Linked DNA regions of Homo sapiens: region 1 is linked to region 2. The links are contacts of gene promoters, found by promoter capture Hi-C in blood cells and fetal thymus (Javierre and others, 2016). All regions are on one chromosome and are shown on one strand. Each heading gives the region's core, a stretch centred on a gene start or on the middle of the fragment in contact. The rest is flanking DNA. Distances are from core to core; before and after follow the strand shown. Region 1 has its middle 3.6 kb from the start of QSER1. Region 2 holds the start of C11orf91 (chromosome 11 open reading frame 91).

What was found. The method cuts DNA at HindIII sites, captures the fragments that hold promoters and counts their contacts. A CHiCAGO score of 5 or more calls a contact.
Region 1: a contact is called between a fragment that was not itself captured here and the fragment with the promoter of C11orf91 in region 2, in 1 of 17 cell types (total B cells). The highest score is 5.0, in total B cells.

Annotation. Positions count from the first base shown.
Region 1 is chr11:32,887,088-32,891,266 of GRCh38, reverse strand. No RefSeq gene overlaps it. Among named protein-coding and RNA genes, the nearest start is that of QSER1, 3.6 kb to the left of the region's middle. RefSeq lists an enhancer at 1-105. The HindIII fragment of the contact is 5,575 bases long and covers 1-4,179 here.
Region 2 is chr11:33,698,746-33,702,895 of GRCh38, reverse strand. It overlaps C11orf91 (chromosome 11 open reading frame 91), which reads left to right and starts at 2,070. Exons shown (of 2, transcript NM_001166692.2): 1 at 2,070-2,651. The coding sequence starts at 2,156. RefSeq lists silencers at 1,895-2,134, 2,315-2,404. The HindIII fragment of the contact is 1,250 bases long and covers 1,784-3,033 here.

The DNA of each region.
Region 1 (4,179 bases), core at 511-3,010, 810 kb after region 2:
ACATTTATTTTTCTTCCTGCAAACTGGAAATGTGGGATCTAAATTAAAAAGTTTTCACAACTAGCTATTATATTTATAAGTACTTTTGTGAGCGCTAAAGTTTTGTCTCTATGAAAAGTATAGGAAATGGAGTGGCATGCTATAAATGTTTTATGACACTTAGTTTGAGATACCCACAACTGGCACTCAGAGTGAGTTACGCAGGCAATACCAAACAAGTGGCAATAAAACCTTTATAGTCCCTCACACCATTATGTAGTTTGTTTATGTCACATAAATCAGGGAAAGATATTAAGGGAAAATTCTAGTGAGTATTTTTAGTAATATTACTCTGTCACCATATGTTCCTTTGCCATTTAAATGAAATTTCCTTAGTTCACTCTAAATCAGTACAATTATATTTATTTTCAAATGTTACATGTCTACAAATAACATCATTACATTTTTTATCAATACTATTTTTAATTGACAAATCATAATTGCATACATTTATGGGGTACAATGTGATGCTTTGATATATGTAAATAAATCTTTTAAAAATTTTGTACACTTGATGATACTATCTGAAGAATGTCTTCTTCCCTACTGAAAATATACTTCCAGCTCTGTGAACGTTTCGGGATCTCTCAAATGATTCGTAACCAAGCTGCTTCAAGTCTGATCTAGGTAATGTCAAACTCTAGAATGAGCATTGTTGGTCCCGTGTTTTTGTTTGTTCGTTTTTTCAGACAGTCTCGCTCTGTCGCCCAGGCTTGAGTGCAGTGGGGTGATCTCGTCTCACTGCAACCTCCGCCTCCCGGATTCAAGCGATTCTCCTGCCTCAGCCTCCTGAGTAGCTGGGAATACAGGCGCATGCCACCACGCCCAGCTAATTTTTTTGTATTTTTAGTAGAGACGGGTTTCACCATTTTGGCCAGGCTAGTCTCGAACTCTTGACCTCAGATGATCCGCCTGCCTCAGCCTCCCAAAGTTCTGGGATTACAGGCGTGAGCCACCGCGACCTGTGAAATACGTATTGATTTTCTAATGGGATGGGAGTTAGGGTGGAAAATGTGGGGAGATTGTTCATGGGCATGTTCTAAGGCATGACTAACTCTAGACAATAAACTCAGAAGGAAGTGGGAGATGGAGGTGAGGAAGAAGGAAAGAGTTTTTTTTGTTTTTTTTCAGACAGGGTCTCGCTATGGTGTCCAAGGCTGGTCTTGAGCTCCTGGCCTCAAGCAATCCTCCCACCTCAGCCTTCCAAAGTGCTGGAAGATTCCTTCTTAAGTGTAGGATTTACTCCAATTCATCTTAAAACCAAACTGCCTTTGATTTAATCAATTTTCAAATCTTGCCCCGATTTTAGAATTGAGATAGAGTGTTTTGGTTTTTCTTTTTTGGGGGGGAAAGGAAAGGAATATGTAAATGACTAATTGGAACTTCTGAATGGGCATTTTTTTTTCTTAGATAGCGTCTTGCTCTGTCGCCCAGGCTGGAGTGCAGTGGCGCGATTTCGGCTCACTGCAAGCTCTGCCTCCTGGGTTTTACGCCATTCTCCTGCCTAAGCCTCCCGAGTAGCTGGGACTACAGGTGCCCGCCACCACGCCCAGCTAATTTTTTGTATTTTTAGTAGAGACGAGGTTTCGTCGTGTTAGCCAGGATGGTCTCGATCTCCTGACCTCGTGATATGCCCACCTCAGCCTCCCAAAGTGCTGGGATTACAGGCATGAGCCACCGCATCCAGCCTGAATGGGCATTTTTAAAGTAGCTTACATATTTATTCATTCAATAGATATGTATTTAGAGCCTAATACAGTGCCAAGCATAATACTAAATGCTGTGAATACGAGGGTAAATTTAATACAACGCCTGTCTTTATGGAACCTGTAATTTATGAGGAAAAGAGGCAGACACACAACTAATTGTAATGCAATAGGATAGTGTTAAATATAATAGAAATTGGAATAAAGCACCAGAGGACAATTGAAAAGGAAGTAATTGATTTTGCCTCTCAAAAAAAAAAAAAAAAGAAAATAAGTATTTCAACTGGTAGAAAGATTGTAGTTCTATTGAGTACATAGTTCATTGCCTTCCTTTTGTAGTTGAGGAAGCTGAGGCCTGGTATTGAGTGACTTGCTTTAAGATGATGGAGGGAATCAGTTGGGGTGAGACCCAGGAAACCCCATCTTCACTGAGGTGGCCTTGTTCATTAGCTTGTTGGGAAATGCAGAATTTGGGGTTGCCTAACTAGAAATGTAGTCAGTAAGTCCACACATTCCTATGTTATAAATAGACCAACCATCAAGAAGAAAGATCCAAGAAGGTCAAGTTTGTGGTTTCACTGAGAATACAAGGAATATGTGTGTGAGAAGTGATTTGAACAGGGAAAGAAGATATGGTTTTAAATTTTTCCCTTCTCTTCTGGCATTGAGGGAAACTATAAGCCCTGTCTTTGCCAGAGCAGCCCTGGTTTCCATCTCTTAGGTCAACATCATAAATTAAATTAAAACATCAGAAAGGAAATAAAAATTAGCCAGGCATGGTGGTGCACCTGTAGTCCTGAGAGGTGACAGCGTGCTGGCAGCCCTCGCTTGCTCTCGGCGCCTCCTAGGCCTTGGCGCCCACTCTGGCCACACTTGAGGAGCCCTTCAGCCCACTGCTGCACTGTGGGAGCCCCTTTCCGGGCTGGCCAAGGCCAGAGCCGGCTCCCTCAGCTTGAGGGGAGGTGTGGAGGGAGAGGCGGGGGCAGGAACCGGGACTGTCCGGGGCGCTTGCGGGCCAGTGCCTGTTCTGGGTAGGCGTGGGCTCGGCGGGCCCCCCACTCGGAGCTGCCAGCCAGCCCCGCCAGCCCTGGGCAGTGAGGGGCTTAGCACCTGGGCCAGCAGCTGCTGTGCTCGATTTCTTGCCGGGCCTTAGCTGCCTCCCCCGGGGGGCAGGGCTCGGGACCTGCAGCCTGCTATGCCTGAGTCTTACCCCCTGCTGTGGGCTCCTGTGGGGCGGAGCCTCCCCGATGAGCGCCGCCCCGCTGCTCCATGGCACCCAGTCCCATCGGAGGCCCAAGGGCTGAGGAGTGTGGAGCACTGCGTGGGAGTGGCAGCCAGCTCCACCTGCTGCCTGGTGCGGGATCCACTGGGTGAAACCAGCTGGGCTCCTGAGTCTGGTGGGGACTTGGAGAACCTTTACGTCTAGCTTAGGGATTGTAAATACACCAATGGGCACTCTGTATCTAGCTCATCTAGTGGGGACGTGGAGAACTTTTGTGTCTAGCTCAGGGATTGTAAATGCACCAATCAGCACCCTGTCAAAACGGACCAATCAGCTCTCTGTAAAGTGGACCAATCGGCTCTCTGTAAAATGGACCAATCAGCAGGATATGGGTGGGGCCAGATAAGAGAATAAAAGCAGGCTGCCCGAGCCAACAGTGGCAACCTGCTGGCATCCGTTTCCACGGTGTGGAAGCTGTGTTCTTTCGTTCCTTGCAACAAATCTTGCTGCTGGTCACTTTTTGGGTCCACACTGCCTTTATCAGCTGTAACACTCTCCGTGAAGGTCTAGCTTCACTCCTGAAGCCAGGGAGACCACGAACCTACGGGGAGGAACGAAGAACTCCAGACGCGCCGCCTTAAGAGTTGTAACATTCACCGCAAAGGTCTGCAGCTTCACTCCTGAAGCCATCCAGACCACGAACCCACCAGAAGGAAGAAACTCCGGACACCCTCCGTTTAAGAACTGTAACACTCACTGCGAGGGTCTGTGGCTTCGTTCTTGAAGTCAGTGAGACCAAGAACCCGCCAATTCCGGACACAGTCCTAGCTACTCCAAAGGCTAAGGCTGGAGGATCACTTGAACCCAGAATTTCGAGGTTACAGTAAGGAATGATCATGTCACTATGCTCCAGGCTGGGCAACAGAGCAAGACTCTGTTTCTAAAGAAAAATTAAAATAAAAAAAGTTAGAAGGAAACTAAGTCCCACTATAATTTTCTCTGTCTCTGAGGCTTGACCCTATCAATCATCTTTTGACTCTGCTCATTGTTGTCTGCCATACCCCTCCAGGGAGACAGCAATGGAATCAGGAAAGCTGCTGTTTAACCCTGCTTCTCTGGAAGCTGCAGCCTCACTAGGGGGTGTCCCTGAAAGAGCTTCAAGAAACATACTTGATCATCAATTTTGTGCGGAGAGGTAGTTTTCTGAGCTAC
Region 2 (4,150 bases), core at 821-3,320:
ATTATATTGATGAAAAAATGAGGTTGAGAAAGGTTCAGCCGCACAGCCAAATACATAGTGGATCCAGGGTTTGGTCCCAAGTCTTGAGTCCAAAACCCTGGTTCTTACCATTACTGTGGTTCTGTAGGGGTGAAAAAATTTTTCTTCTAATCTCTTAGGTTCAGAGCCTGGGGCCTGAGAATTAAACTGACAAAGACAGATTAACAGAAGACAAAGTTTATTACGCAGGTACATGGGGTTCTTACAGAAACAAAGTGAAAACCCAAAGAAGTGGCTTGAGAGCTTATATACAATTTTAACAATGGGCGATTGTAGAAAAGTGATAAGACAAAGGAAAAGAGGTTTGAGCTTCTTGGGCAGTAAATTATGGGAAGTTAAATATGTGGGGGAAACTAATGGAAGATAAGGGTATTTTTTATTTTATTTTATTTTATTTATTTTGAGACAGGGTCCTGCCTTGTCACCCAGGCTGGAGTGCAGTGCTATGATTGTGGCTCACTGCAGCCTCAACCTCAGCCTCCTTGGTTCAAGAAATCCTCCCACTTCAGCTCCTGAGTGGCTCCAGGCAAATGCCACCACACCTGGTTAATTTTTTAAATTATTTTATAGAGACAGAATCTCGCTATGTTGCCCCTGGCTGTTCTCAAACTCTTGGCCTCAAGAGATCCCACCTCAGACTCCCAGAGTGCTGGGATTACAGGCTGGGTGCTGAGCTATCGCACATGGCCTGTATTAGCCATAGACTGAGGGGAAATACATTTTCTTGAGAGCCTCAGCCTAGTGATCACTTGTATGAATAAACAATGATGGGTGGCTGCCAAAGTCAGAGAGCAAATACTGCGTGTGACAACTAAGTGTGGGAAGCTCAGTGTGGGAAGAAAAAGCTTCCCAGTTTCAGACATGCCCCTTAGTAGGGACAGCTGCCTCTTGTGTTTGGACAAAGTGTCCAAGTTCAAGTGTTTCACACACACACTGTTCCGTCTTCTGTTTGATCACAACCCTATGAGGCAGCCTGGTTTTCTTATTTCTATTTTATGGAAAACCTACTTAAAAGTCAAGCAACTTGTCCAAGGCTACCCAGCTTGAATATCTGACTCTCTCCACTTTGCTGCTACACACACACACACACACACACACACACTTTGCACTGTGTGTGCAGATACATATGCATATATATATTTAACTTGTGAAGCTGATACTGACTCTTTAACTGCCCTCCACCCATCACTAGTCATACCAGTGATCATTAGGCAGAGGCTCTCAAGAAAATGTATTAGTTATTTCCCCTCAGTCTATGGCTAATACAGGTTACTCACATAAATGAGCTGTCATGTCCTTTGGACAAAATGTCCAAATCGCTCATAAGCAATGGGTGAAGTATTTGAGGTAGGGCGGACAGGATTTCCTTTTGGTGGTTAGCTCGTTGCCTGTTAGCTCCTGGTGATATCTGTGTTTGGAAGAGAACTAAACTGCATTTCACTGAAAACACTCCTTCAGGTCTATTACAAACCAGATGAGGATCCCCTTTTCTAGAATCTTCCTCAACACTGCTAACGTTTGGCAGATACATAGGTTGGCTCTAACAGCCATTCCCAATCAATCCTCTTCTCCTTTGTCTGCCTCCCACAGTAGTGGATGAAAAATCAGACACTGATTTTCTCAGACTTCTTTGCTGTGGGCGCGGCCAGTGAGGCAATGAGGTAAGTCTGCTGGTGCAGGGGCCAGGTTTCTAGGAAATACTTTTCTCCCTCATGGGAGAAAGAGAGGAAGCCTGAAGTAAGCTTTCTTCTGCAGCCCTGGCCCGCTGCCTGTTCTGGATGAGGGTATGCTGGGATATGACAACGGAAGCCAGCGGGGTCGCAGAGCAAGAGCGAGGCGGTGGGCGGAGTCGAGGGACGGGAGGCGAGGCGAGGCGAGCCAGGGGGCGTGGCTTTCTAACTGCGGGGTGCGGCCAGCCGAGGTGGGCGGGGCCGCGTTCCGGGACGTGGTCGTCCGGGCTTTGGAACCCCGCCTGTTAGGGGCCGGGCTGAGGCGAAAGGGTGGGGCCGCGCTCCATCGGGGCGGGGCTTGTGGAACCTCGAAACCCCGGCGACTCGGGGCCTGAGCGCGCGTCTCCCGGCGCGGGGTTCCTCCCACGCAGACCCTCATTCAAACGATGCCAAAGGGGCGGCGCGGCAGCCACAGCCCCACCATGAGCCAGCGGTCGGCTCCGCCCCTCTATTTCCCGTCCCTGTACGACCGCGGCATCTCCTCGTCCCCGCTCAGCGACTTCAACATCTGGAAGAAGCTCTTCGTGCCGCTGAAGGCGGGCGGGGCGCCAGTGGGCGGGGCGGCGGGGGCCCGGTCCCTGTCCCAGGCGCTCCCCGCCCCGGCGCCCCCGCCCCCGCCACCACCCGGCCTGGGTCCCTCCAGCGAGCGCCCCTGGCCCTCGCCCTGGCCCTCCGGCCTGGCCTCCATCCCCTACGAGCCTCTGCGCTTCTTCTACTCACCGCCGCCGGGGCCTGAGGTGGTTGCCTCGCCCCTGGTCCCCTGCCCCTCGACCCCCAGGCTCGCCTCTGCCTCCCACCCGGAGGAGCTCTGCGAGCTGGAGATCCGGATTAAGGAGCTGGAGTTGCTCACCATCACTGGGGACGGCTTCGACTCCCAGAGCTGTGCGTGACCTCGCCAGGGCCACCGAGCCCAGCCTTAGCCTGCCCTAGCTCCCTCCTTGGCTCCGTGCCCCGACCCGAAATGTAGCCTGGTTTGACTCCAGCCCCCAGTAGTCCCAGATCCAAAATCTATCCCCTAGCACCCAGACTCCCTTATCCTGGACTTAACCGACTCCTCCCCCCACCACAGATCTGAACTTCATGAGCCTCTTAGTCCCAAACTCCATCCTCCCTCCGTCCTAAACCCTTTGGGTCATCTGGACTCTGAGCCTCCACACCTGGAACTCCATCCGCCACCACCCCGTCCTGAACTTTAATCCTCCTGCACAGTCATCCTCCTACCCTGTACTCTGGAGCTCCACCCACCACAGACAGTCCCTAAGCTTTAATGTTCGGTCCTAAACCGGGGCTCTCCATGGGGGGAAGGTGAAGTAAGGTGACTGTCAGTTGTCTGTAGGGGGAGGTGGGAGTTGTGCAAGAACCACAAGGCCCAAGGCCGTTTCCAGGGCAGCTTTGGGACACTCCACTTCTCAATGCTGGGGGGCAGCCCCCCTGGGACTCTGTGGCCTTGGCGCCGGTAGTTCTCTCACCAGGATCCTGGGCTGATATCTGGTCTTACGTCTGAAGTCTTAGGGCTCTGGACCACGTGTGCTGATGCGGGCAGGATCCCTCAGCCTACGAGCTGAATGACTCCTCCCTGTTGGAGGGTAAAGTTGTTAAATGCCTTGTACTCCAAGAAGGACCTATTGCAAAGTAGAACTTTCAGTAGCGGTAGGTTGTCCTGCAGACTTTGTCTTTCCCATCACTTGTTTTGGCTAAGGCTTGTCCTTGACCACTGGAGAAGGGCAGATAGTTCTAAAAAGATCATTCCAACTATCGTATATAACGGCTTAAGTTGGCTTCCCCTGCCACACAGAGAAGGGAAGTATGAAATAACCTAAATGCTTAGGTCCGTGTGGCCATGGAAATGGTCTTCAGTTCATCAGACACACTGTAATGCACCCTTTCTCATAGCCATGGAAGGAAGACAGTCCCTAGAAAAACTGGGCTTTGCTAAGTCCTGGATTTCTTAACTATGAATACATACATAATACTATGTATTCATAGTTAAGAAATCTTAACCGAATACATAGTTAAGAAATCCAGGGGCCGGGTGTGGTGGCTGGCACTTGTAATCTCAGCACTTTGGGGGGGCCAATGCGGGTGGATCATTTGAGGTCAGGAGCCTGACCAACAAGAGGATCATTGAGGACCAGCCTGACCAACATGGTAAAACCCTGTCTCTACTAAAATACAAAAATGAGCCGGGCTTGGTGGCACACATTTGTAATCTCATCTACTCGGGAGGATGAGGCAGGAGAATCGCTTGAACCCAGGAGGCCGAGGTTGCAGTAAGCCAAGATTGTGCCACTGCACTCCAACCTGGGTGAAAGAGTGAGACTCCCTCTCAAAAAAAAAAAAAAAAAAAAAAAATTAGAAGAAGAAGAAATCCAGGACTTAGC